Linked DNA regions of Homo sapiens: region 1 is linked to region 2. The links are contacts of gene promoters, found by promoter capture Hi-C in human tissues and cell types (Jung and others, 2019). All regions are on one chromosome and are shown on one strand. Each heading gives the region's core, a stretch centred on a gene start or on the middle of the fragment in contact. The rest is flanking DNA. Distances are from core to core; before and after follow the strand shown.

The links. Contacts are between HindIII fragments. The study calls those that stand out against the background at their distance.
Region 1: a fragment that was not itself captured here is called in contact with the fragment with the promoter of CNTN4 in region 2 in 2 of the 25 tissues and cell types used here (aorta and neural progenitor cells).

The regions. Positions count from the first base shown.
Region 1 is chr3:2,051,468-2,057,541 of GRCh38, reverse strand. No RefSeq gene overlaps it. Among named protein-coding and RNA genes, the nearest start is that of CNTN4, 44 kb to the left of the region's middle. The HindIII fragment of the contact is 5,054 bases long and covers 661-5,714 here.
Region 2 is chr3:2,096,578-2,102,869 of GRCh38, reverse strand. It overlaps CNTN4 (contactin 4), which reads right to left and starts at 4,004. Exons shown (of 25, transcript NM_175607.3): 1 at 3,892-4,004; 2 at 2,231-2,312. LOC124909338 (a long non-coding RNA gene) reads left to right here and starts at 4,615. Exons shown (of 2, transcript XR_007095785.1): 1 at 4,615-4,723; 2 at 4,912-5,289. The HindIII fragment of the contact is 20,122 bases long and covers 1-6,292 here.

The DNA of each region.
Region 1 (6,074 bases), core at 1,938-4,437, 45 kb after region 2:
CTTCAAAATTGAGTGGTGTCCTACCTTGAAAAAAAAAAAGAAAAAACACCCTCAAATCAAACAGAGTGCTTTAAAAAAAAGAAAATTAACTAAAATATACTTGGAGGAAAAGGAAAGAAAGGGAGAGATCTGAGCTTTTTTTTTTTTTTTAACTGCTATTTATTTGACAAAAATAATTTTGAATTTAATAATTGTACATACATTATTTCAAAATATTTTCACTAAGCACCAAATAGAATAGTCCCGCAGTATTTTCACTGAGAAAAGATTGCCTTTGAAAGAATGCCTAAAACAATGGGTTTATTTAGGTTTTTAAGAAATAAATCTAAGCTGTCAATTAGGGTTTCTAATTACCATGAAATGATTAGGTTAACAACCTTGAAGTCATATAATATGAGCTTTTAAAAATTTTGTTTGACCTATACATCCTAATCAAGAGTATTTGTTGGCCTTAGGCTAGTAATCACATGTCCATGTGCAGGTATCTCTCTCTCACACACACACCCACACCCACACTGAGAAATAAGTGTCATGTATGAATGATAAAGACTATATGGTCCCTGTATATTTAAGGGGAATAATATCTAATTCTCATGGATGCACTATTAGTGAATACACGAATGAAACTGAGAGCCTGCTCTGAGCTATTCTTTTTATTCTCTACTAAATGGGACCATTAGCTTCTGGACAGGGAAAATAATGGTATGTTCATTTCACATGTCCGATAACATCTTGCTCCCAGTAATGATAAGGAAGCAATGTACATTAGCACATTTGACTACATAAGCCAGGAGAGCAGAATATCTGAGTGAGTTAGGCTCCTTCTAAGAGACATTAGAGAGCAGTGGTGATTATGGTAAATTGGAGAGTAAATACTAACCTAAGACATGTAAACGGTACTTAGATCCAGCTGACTGTGATCATATGAAAATGTGAAGCAAGAGCTTCTAGATCTTCTAATTTTTTGTTTTATACGAGGAGCCAGAAATCTGGTATTTTATGTGAAGTCTGCTGATTATTCAATTTTGGGAGATAATTAAATGCATCAAAATGTGAGCTACATAATATACATTTGACTATGGCCAAGTATGGTACATAGGTCACGACTTTACAGATATCTGATTTCTTTGTATTTTAATCACTCAGTTGTGTGATTTATTTTTGCAACTCTCATAAGTCTTTAATTGATTCTCAATCCTACTTTGACATTTATCAAGAGTTGTTGGTTGTACTTACACTAATAACCTATGCCTTCGAATTAACATTGAGTTCTTAAAATCTAATGACTGTTTCTTCATCTATATAGAGGGAATGATAATAGGACCTACTTCAATGATTATCTTTTGTGTTAAATTAGTTAATGTATGCCAGCTCCTGATACTTTGTAAGTAGTAAATGTATTTACTATCATTGTAAGTCTGTGTTAGAGTACCCAACACATCTCTCCAAAGATTGTCACAAAGGAGATGCTTTGAAAATATGAGTTGATTGATTGATTGATCAATAAGTTTATGACAACAAATATCCATTAAAGAACTTTTCTCACCCTTTGCCACTTGGACATGACCTAGCATTAGGAGGATATGATTGAGAATAATTAGATTTTAGTTTAAGCCTCTGATAGCATGTGAAAGCTTAATTCTTGAAATAATTATAGTATAAACATTTTTACAATAAATAAAATATGTCTAAATAGCTTCATAAATATTTAAACAGCTAATCCACAAATCCACCTGTGCTCTCCAGGCAGCATAGTTTGAAAGCAGGAGCATTTTTTTAGCAGCATGAACACCATTAGTGCACATTATTTATACAAATGTAACCCTTTTCTCAGGTCACCCAAGCCACTCCCCATTTAGAGGGAAGCTCAGTGGTCAGATTTACAAAACATACAACTCTTTCCTCCCTGGATCTGTAGCTCAAATGACTGAAGGACAAACCTAGGAAGTTATCCTTATGCAGGGATAATATAAATGATGAGTAGAAATATTGTTTGAAGAAATAGGCTACTGAACAATGATAGAGTTGTTTTAGGTATTAAGAGAATCATTTCCCCCCTTTGTGGATCAGCTTCGTTAACTTTAACATACATGGATTTGACTCAATGATATTTCTTTTCTAGTTTCAAAATCTGTGATTAGAATATTAATAGCTGATACATGTAACTGTAGAAACATAGTTTTTTTTTTCTTTTTTCAGTTTCACTGGAATAAAAGAATGTTCTAGTCATTTTGCTGAAGTGCATGTTCCTTTTCTTCAAGGAGTTTAACATTTATTATATGACTGTCTAAATATGAGGAACTATCACACAGGAAGGAGATGAAAACATGAGGAGAATAATTAATAGAATGTAAAGCTCTTTGATATTTCTTCGGAGAAGACTTGTTATTAATGCTAAAATCTGAAGATATGAAGAAAGACTTCGTGGGTCAGGTTTACTTAGAAAAAAAGAAAGAAAAAATACAGCTTGAAAAAGGAGGTAACAGATTGAGTGGCTGAGGGCTCTGAAGAAGGAGCAAGTAATTTAGAGATCTAGAATACACGTTAGTTTGATTTGGGGGAAGAGTAGCAAGCAGATAATAATAAGAAAAAGAAACTCTGCTTAGGCACTTTTTATTCAAAGATGGACCAGGCAGAACAGTGTGACAAGGCACTGAATTCTTTAGAACAATTCACGCCCACAGTCCAGTGGCTACTTCGTTTTTCAGGTCAGGAGAGACTGGTTTCTCTCTGTTTCCTTCTCTGTAGAAGTCATGTGAGGAGTTTAAGCCCACTTTTCACACACCAAGAAAACATGAAAATGTGGGTGAACTTAGTATTTAAATTACTGATGTAAAAGCCAGTTTTCTTGTGAAAAAGCTATTAAAAAGACCAGGTCTTATGAAAATCTGCTCCTGGTTGCATAGAAATGTTTAAAAGGTACTCACAGGATTTTTCTAATATGATAGGGGCAGATAAGGTTTGTTGTCTATTAGAGAATCAGTAGAGTAATGAGAATGACATGATTTTATTTTATTCAGTTTCTTTACCTCATAATATACACACTGCAATTTGGAGAAAATAAAGTTAAATTTAGAAACAACGTACCCTATCATGAACATGGCACATAACATTAATATGTAGATGCATCTGTACATATACCTTACAAACCTCAAATGGCCAATAGCTCATGATCTCAAAGTTGTACTAGAGAAAATTATAAAAATATAAAGATAAATGGAAACAATAGTAGCTGGCTAATATACTCAGATTGTGACAAATGAAGTTGACAAACTGTAAGTGTTGGCAGCTGGCTTAGTCAGTTAGGGTTGTTATAACAGAATATCATAGACTTGGTGGCTTACAAACAACAGAGCTTTATTTCTCACTGTTTCACTGTTTGGGAGGCTGGGAAGTCCAAGAACAAGGTGCTGCAGATCTGGCGTTTGGTGAGGGACGCTTCCTGTTATCTCTACAGCTGTACTTTTACTGTGTCCTCACATGGTGGAAAGGGGAAGGGAGCTCTCTGTGGTCTCTTTTATAAGGGTACTATTCCCATTTATTAGCCACCCTTCCCCCAAGAGCTAACCACTTCCCACAGGCCCCACCTCCAAATACCATCAGCCATCATCTTGAAGATTAGTTTCAACATACAAATTTTGGGTGGGACACAAACATTCAGTCTATAGCAACTACCCAAAAAAAATAATTTAAGAGGCTGATCTAACTAATAGTGTATAAATAATGTTCAATTTCCTACAAATGTAAATATATCTTCTTTTTAAGAGCAGATGGAACATTCATAAAAATTAACCAAATATTACGCCAGAAGTAATTTCAATAAATTTATGAAAGTGAAAAAATACAGATAATATTCCCATGATGGTGCAGAAAATCTATGCATACAAACAAAATCAGTCCCCCACAAAAGATTCTTCCACTGAGGGATTTAAATGCTCTCTTTCGAACAGCTCTTAGTTCAAAGAGGAAAAACCAAAACTGGAGAATAAGATTTACAGAGAAAAATAAAAATAATATCTATCAGAACCCAAGGGACATAATGCTCTAAGGGAAACTCAAAACCTTAAAACTTATATTCATTTTTTTAAGAAAGAAAGAATAAGGACAAATAAATTAAGTGTCAGATGCAAAATAATTAGAAAAAATAAAATACACTAATAAAAGGTCTAAGTAAGGAATTTATAATAAAGATAAATGCAAAAATAAATTATTGTGAAAACTTAAAAACAGTAAAAGCAATATGCAAATAGATTTTGGGAGTAGAACAGTAAAATAAACGGTTGACTAATCACAAAAAGAAAAATGTGGGATGCTGTGGTGAGAGGATCACTTGAGCCCTGGCATTTGGGCAACATAGCTAGATTACATCTCTAAAAATAAATAATTTAAAAAGAGAGAAAAGAAAATTAATATTATTATTTGTATGAATACATTTAGACACCTGAATGAAATGTATAATTTTATAGGAAAATATAATTATCAAAACAGACTTTTAAAAAATAATTCAAATTAATCTATTTTCATTTAAGAAATATTGAATGCTATCAAGAAGATCCCACTCAAAAACCTCAGGCTCAGATGGTTACGTAGGGGGTTTAATCAAATTTTTAAATAATTGTAATGCTCTTTAATTTATTACAGCATGTAAAAAATAAAGGTACATTTACAAACTATCTTAAGGGACTGAGTGTATTATTGATATAAAAACCTGACAAAGATTGTACTAAACACAAGAATCTTATGTATTATTTTATTATTTATTAAAAATCTAAAATAAAATATTTATAACTCAAATTAAGCAGTTCTTGCAAATCATGCCACATTATAATCTAGTATGGGTTATTTCAGGAATGCAAGAATGGCTTAATATTAGGAACTTATTAGTATGATTCTGTTTGATAAGAAATCTATGGAAAAAATAATTTAATCACCTGTGCAGATGCTAAATAAGCATTTGAAAAATATTAAAAATTATTGTTGATAAGTGCACAACAACAAAAGTGATGGATTCCTCCTTCAACACAATGAAAAAGATTAGATTCCGCTAAAACATGATTATTTGATAATTACTTTGTGTGTAATTGATAAACATAATGACTACAATTTAATATGGAATTTGTATTAGTTTGTGTGGATTCTTTTTTTTTTAGATTTTTAATTTTTTGAAACAAGAAGGGGCAAGTTTTCTCACAACTAAAGAAAAGCTTTAGCCATATATGAAGAATATAATTTAAAAAATGAAGGTCTACAGAAGTATCTTTTCTTTGGGCACATAATTGCTGGTTTAGAGGCTTTAATACTTGCTATGCTTTCCTCTGTGTCAAGGTAACACAGCAGAGCTATAAGTGCTCTGTAGAGAAGTAGTGAAAATATTTCTTCTCTGTATAATCCTTGAAGGAATAATTGTGCTCTGATTCAGCCTTGAGGCCTGCCTCCCACTCCCACTTGGCAATAATCCTCATATTCTCTCTAAACAAAATGAACATACACATAGGGATAGTTAGAGAATTAATAGAAAATGGAAACAGAGTCTGGAAACTTTGGTTATTTACCAAACACTGAATCAAAAGCTTTTATATGCCAGGGAGGAATTCAGGAGCAAATCAATGCAGTGTACTGGTTCCACAACTTGCTCGTTGTATGGGGCTGCTAGATTTAGCAGATAGAAATACAGGATGCCCTGTTAAATTTGAATTTCAGATTAGCAAATTTTTTTTTAGTATAATTATATTTTGTATAATATTTGGGACACATGACCAGGATGACCTCAACATTCTCTAGCTTGACTAAACTTTAGTTTTCTTCCTGACTCTTGGCCCTTGACCTTCATTTTCTTAAGAGCATTTACTTTAGAAAGCTTGAAATTGCACATTAGTTTTCTACCCCTTTGATATATGAATCTTCTATATCCCAGAAATGTCGTTCTCAAGGACCTGAGAGCTATCCCTTTGAAATGTGATTATTAGGAAAGTTAGGGTCTATATCTCCCAGTCTCTGTGAGGGGGCAGAGGCCTAATTTTAATAAGCACCAATTAGCAAACACAAATGGCCTAGTCACATTGAACAACCTGCTC
Region 2 (6,292 bases), core at 2,755-5,254:
ATCACATATAGTAATAAAACATCAGAGAATGCTAGTTGTTCCCCCAACAATTTCTTCTACTTCCTGGATAACATTTCTAGACTATATTTCCCAGCCTCCTTAATAGTAACGTACATCCACAAAGAACTGGGTTCTGGCCAGCACAATGCAAGGAAAAGTAATATGCACTCATTCCAGTTCTGGGCAATTAACATCCTCCCAAGTCTTCCTCTTTCCAATGGCTTGATGCAAGTAAGCACAGTGACCCTGCTGAAGACGGCAAGGGCACAGAACAGATGAAGGCTGGGTCTCTGAATCACACTTTGAAGGAGTACTGCCATGATCACCCATTCTGGGACTTCACACAACCGAGAAATAAATATATTTCACATCTGAGGCAGTATCCCTTTTGGATCTGTTATATCTGCTAAAGAGCCAATCTAAAAGAGCCAAGCTCTTGACCCATGTTGACTCATGCTCTCATGTTTAATCCCTATCGTGATGCCGTGAAATAGATGTTATCCCAATTTTATACCTAAAGAAACTAAGGCTCACAGAAATTAAGGAACTACATTGCCCAGGACTGTAAATGTAATAAATGATGGTGCCAGACTTAGATTCAGGTTAATCTGCTTCAAGGTTTATGAACTTTCCAGCCTCCACACAACACTGCAATGTGGAAAGTGTCCTTCCAATCCTCCCTCATTTACTCCTTGGATTCTTCACTTCCTGACCATTGGTACTTAGTCTTTAAACTAAAACTCCATTTTTTAAAATTCACCTGTATGTCTACTTTGGGAGATCTAAGATGACATCTCCAAAACACATTCATCCTTTACACCTCATTCTATCCACATATGAGTCCATGAGAGGAAAACAAGTGTGCTTAATCTATTTGTTACAGAAGATATAGAAGTGTAGCAGTTTTACAACTGGCTAGAGTATCAGAGATGATGAACAGCAGAGCAGAGATAAGGAGAGAAAGATTTTAAAAATATCAAACCAGCAGTGATCTTTAAAGTGTGCTACACACCCCAGGGGCTGTACAAAATGATCCACCGGGATACATAACAGCAACATGAGACCTTCTATTTCATAATTTTTGCTTTATTCATCTTTTTTGTTTCTTTGTGTGTTTTATAAGTAGTGTATCATATAACAGCATGTCTTCAGTTTATAAATAAATTTTATTGATATGTTGTCAGATTTCTTCTGATAGTAAATAATAATAATAATGAAGATCAATAAATCTAGGCAGTAAATCCTGCCTCCTTGCCTCCTTCACTAGGCTTAAAACATAGCATTACAGGGAAAAATGAACAAAAAGGAACAAAAAAAATCAGTGTGTAGAGACTTCCCCCTGCCTATCATATGAAATAGACTTATTCAACTAAAATAATATAAAAGCAAGTTTTTACAAAATATTAATTTTTAAGATAAGAGAGATTGAAGCTAATGCATATTATGTCTGTCCTCAAATATAACAAAGAAGAAACAACAAGTTAAAATCATGATCAGACAAACTTGTAGAAAAGTCAGTACCATGCATGGGAATTTTCTGCTGAGCAGCTTTATTTTTTTAAGACCTAAATTGAAGGAACGGATGCCCTGTATACATTTCAGAAGAAAAACTGCAGCCAAAAGATTTAGTGCTTAGATCGGAAAAGAAATCAGAAGACCTACTTTTGAACAAAAAGGAGAGAGAAGTAGGTAAAATAAGTGAATGATAAAAAATCCAACATCATTTGAAAGGTTTGTTCTCTAATCACTCTTAATTACCTGCCAATATGAAATGACCATGGAAAAAGGTACTGCATTGACTCCCAATTGACTTGAAAAGTTTTACAACTCAAAGAAACTGAAAAGTGTTGTTTAAAAAACTGCAAATAGGAAAATCTACCTCTGTTGAAACTTACATGTGGCTCTGACATGCACCCTTATCCAAGTCACTTCTCTTAGACTCTTAGTCTTTAATTGAAAAGGTCAGTTTTTCCATCCTTGCCAGCTACCTCCCAGGGTTCAGATGGAAAAATAATGACGTTTATCAGCATCATCTCTCCTCAACAAGACAGAGCAGTTGAAACCAGCTTCAACAAACAAATCAATAGCTATTTTATAAGGTAGCAAAAATAATATTCTCATGAAACTTGTTTTTGATCCTTAGCAATCTTACCTACTCCTGCGACCCACTGCAGATATTCCCACAAAATCTTTAAAGAAATCAAGATAAAAATAGCAAGAATAAACTTACGGGTAACGTGAATTTTCTCATGAATGCCACCCAAATCACCTCCAGGTGCCTGTCTTCATGACACACTGTTCTTTTTCACCCACTTGGGTAGAGAGAGAGAAAGAGAGAACAAACTTGCTATTAGGCAGACTTGGGAACGCTATTGTATGGACCTGCTCATAGGCAACCTATACAGTCTTTACGCTCCTACCCCACTCTCTAAAGGACATAAACCAGAAATCTCAAAAAACAAAAAAATACAAGCGCGTTCCAAATTATCTTGTGTGGGTATCCAAACGACTCAGTTATGTGGAGTTACTCCTTGAACTATCCAGCTCCCACTACAGAAAATTGAAAGAGCTTCCCATGCAGTTAAATGCCACTGTTATTCTGACAAACATGTGCCCGCCCCTATGTTGATTCCAGCAGGAAAACTAGAAAAAGTTCCACGACATTCCTTTCAGGAACTCCTCTTACAAATAAACCTCCAACACACCTCAAGATCCGGCCCACTCTCCTCCACGCAGACCACACACCCAGGGTGCTCAGTCACACTGACTCGCCCTACACAACCTCCGCCAGCTTCTTCGCACCGAATCTGCAGACCCTGGCCAGCAAGCAACCGCCTGATCTTCCCGACGCGCGAAGCCGCCTCCTCGCAGGAGCTTCGCTGCGAAATGTTTCCATGCAGCCGACTCTCTGGCTGGTTCAGAGGGATTCAGGAGCCCACGTCCTCCTACCCTCACCTCCACACCCTTCATAAATAGTAAAACATATACACGAAGCACAAGAGAGAAAATGCACGAAGATTTTGAGCCCCGCGTTCCAGAAGGAGAGTGAGTGGATTGGGGTCTGTGGGGCGCCCGGCGCACAGTTCGCCGCCGTCTGGGCCCGGGGAGGGGACGGGGCGGTTGTCTTGCCTCTCGAAAGAAACTGGAAACCCCCCAGAAGTTGCTGGAAACGAATGCCACCCAACAGGCTCCCGCGGCAGAGACTGGGGAAGCCAGGTACCTTCCCTAAGAGCAGGCACCTGGCCTGTCGCTCGCCGCCGCAGCCTCAGCGCTCAGCAGCCAGCCCGGCACCCAGCGGGCGCCACAGACATCAGCCTCCGTCTCCACGCGGCTCCTTCCACCACGGCTACGGGCTCCTGTTCCTTTAGTCCCAGGTCCCTCCACTCCCCAGGTTCGCGTCCCTCTGCTGCGGGCTGTGACTGGGCTGTCAGAAGAAAAGCCCCGCCGGGAACCCGGCGCCAGAGGCCAGGGCGCACGGAGAGGGGGCAGTAGCCCGAACCAGTCGGAGGAGCTGACTTGAAGGCTTCCCGCAGCATTCCGGGCTCTCGGTTCCTTGTTTTGTGGCTGCCTCGCAGCGCAACAAACTTATTTTCCGGCTGAGAAGGAGAAGAAGGGTCGCTGTGGGGTGACGGTGGCGTCGTCGGGGCCCTGAGTCCTCCGCGCTCAGGCGTTCAGCTCCCGCTCCCCGACCCTGCAGGGCTTCCGGGCTCTGAGCTGGACGGCCCCGCAGACGCTGCCCGGCCCCGCGGGAGTCAGAGCCCCGGGAAGCGCCCCTGTCCTTCGGGCAACCCGCGCGGACCCTGCCCTTTCCCCCCCACACCCGCGACCGCGTCCCCGGGGCATCGCGCGCCCACGCAGGAGCCGGACCCGCACAGCTGCCGCCTCACTTACCTCAGCACCGGGGCGCCGGGCTGGCGAGAGCCTCGGGTGCGGCGCCGGCACAGTCCGAGGGGCCCGGGGCGGCGGCGAAAGCTCCCTACTTGCAGCCAATCCTGGCGTCGAACCCCGGGCTCCGTCTGGCGCGGCGCTGCCCTCCCTCCCGGCGCTCGCGGCGGCTGGAAAAACCTGGCGCGCCGGAGTTCGGGCTGCCGGCTCCTTAGCCGCGGGGCGGGGGAGACGCTCGGGGAAGGGGAGAGGCGCGGGCGGGTGGGAACGGGCGGGAGACGAGCGGGGACGGGGAGACGCGCCGGAGGCCCGGAGCCCGCGCATGCTCAGTGCGCGGCCGGAGGAGGCGAGCGCTGGGGACGCAGCACCTGCCCCGCGCGGCCGAGAGGCGGCAGCCCCAGGTCCCCAGCGCGCGAAATTAGTAAAGGGCGCCTGGCCCGATTCTCAGGCAAGAGGAGATTATCAGCCGGATTCCCGTGCGGGGACGTAGGGGTTGCGTTGTTCAGCGGCCAGGGATGCGCCGAGGCGATGTCTCCTCCCTTTACAACCCGAGTATCGGGGCACGAGGAGGCGCGACCTTCCTGGGTACCCAAACCTCTGGCCTCCGGGAGACGCGGAATTCGGGGGATCGTTAAGGCGCCCTGGCCAGGGAAACAGATGCTTCTGCGTCTGGGCTGAAAATTGCTGAACCGGGGAATGTGGGTGGGCGGGTGGCATTGAACTTAGGCCAGAAGAGGGGGCTTTGGTAGGTTTTTACCTGCCTGTCCTTAGGCGGAGGACACTGGCTGGACAGGCTGCGTTACACACCTGAAGTCTCATCCACGCAAAGTGCTTTCAGGTTGGAATGTGGGGCGGGGGCGGGGGGAGGTCAGAGGGAACAGTTGCTGTAAATTAGGTACAAGGATCAATTTGTGGTGTGTTGTGCGCGGGGGTGGGGCATGTCGAAAGCCTTGTTATTCGAAAGAATGTGCTTTGAACGACGTTGCCACGGTCATTCTACATTATGAATCTACTGTTTCCTTGCAGAAGTGGCTCCCTTCGCCGCAACTCCACACCTCGGGGTAACCGTAGAGATTGGCAGCAATGCCCCAGCCCCTCACCAGCACTGTGCAAAGTGACTTTGACAGGCAGAGAAAAGCCAACCCAGTCGAATTCGTCTGGAAAGCATTCCAGCAACCCAGAGAGGAGCCTCTGTTTCTCTCTCTGGGAAAAAGCCCCAAGGGTTTTGCTGAACCCAGGTCTTCCTGCTCATCTCTCAGCAGTTCAGAGCTACATAAACAACTTCTGACCATTTACGCAATCATGTAAACCTACCCTGACATCTCCACTATGTGGAAAAGATGTTAACTGGAAAACTATTTTTAAACTACTGCAGTAAGCAAATAAACATCCAACTCCAACATATATATGCAGCAGCCTTATTAGTTCATTCAGTGTTGGTTTGGTTTGTTTGTTTTGTCTTCTGCTTTTTAGAATTAATTATTATCTTTATAATTCCTGTTCGAGAAGTGGGCAAAACCAGGCTAGTGATAGGTATTGTTGTGGTCAAATTTTTCATCACTTGAAATTCCATGACTTTCATGATTGCTGAGATTAATGCTAAATAAAGAAGTTACCCCCCCGCCCCCACCCCACCCCAACCTCCCCACCAAAGTTTCCTGATTACTTAAACTTGGAGAGAAATTTTCAGGCTTTTTCCTCCCTCCTTGCCTGGTATGTGTCTGTAATAGAGGTACTTTTGCAAAACTGGAATGTTGGTGATGCAGGTGTTTTCCATGGTAAACAGCCACTGAGGATCAATGGTTCCCAGGTTCCCACTCACTTTGAAGGCTTTTGTGCTTCTGCCGGAACTGTGACTTTTACTACCTGTACTATGTATGATTTTTTTTTACATTGATTATTTCTCTGCAACTAGTCAATTAAAAGTACATATATATAACTTTTAGTAAGACTGTTTATCAAAATATGCTTCACCAGAAGTTCTCCAGAAAATATTCCTGTGTAGTCATGCATACTCCTAACACATTAAAGGGAAATGTCGTGTTTTAGACTGGACACAGAATTTCAGAAAAGAACAAAGAATAAAATATGCTGTCACATTCTCCCACTGGGACTATACATTGAAGCAATTTTCAAAGTTTTATGACAATTTCAGGCAAAGTCCCTTAACTGTGTTTCTAAATTTCAAATGTACATATTTTGTTTCCATTCTCCCCTTTGGCCCTTATTCTGTGCCTGCTATATGCTAGGCATTGTCTTCTAGTAGATTCTGGGAAACAAACTAAACATGACCAAGACTTGCTCCACAGTTCACCATGTAGTTAGGAAAACAGACATTGTGTATCTGGAGAGACAGATTTGGGTCGTGTTGAGGGGATATCAGTTAAACGTTAAGTTAGGAGGAGGC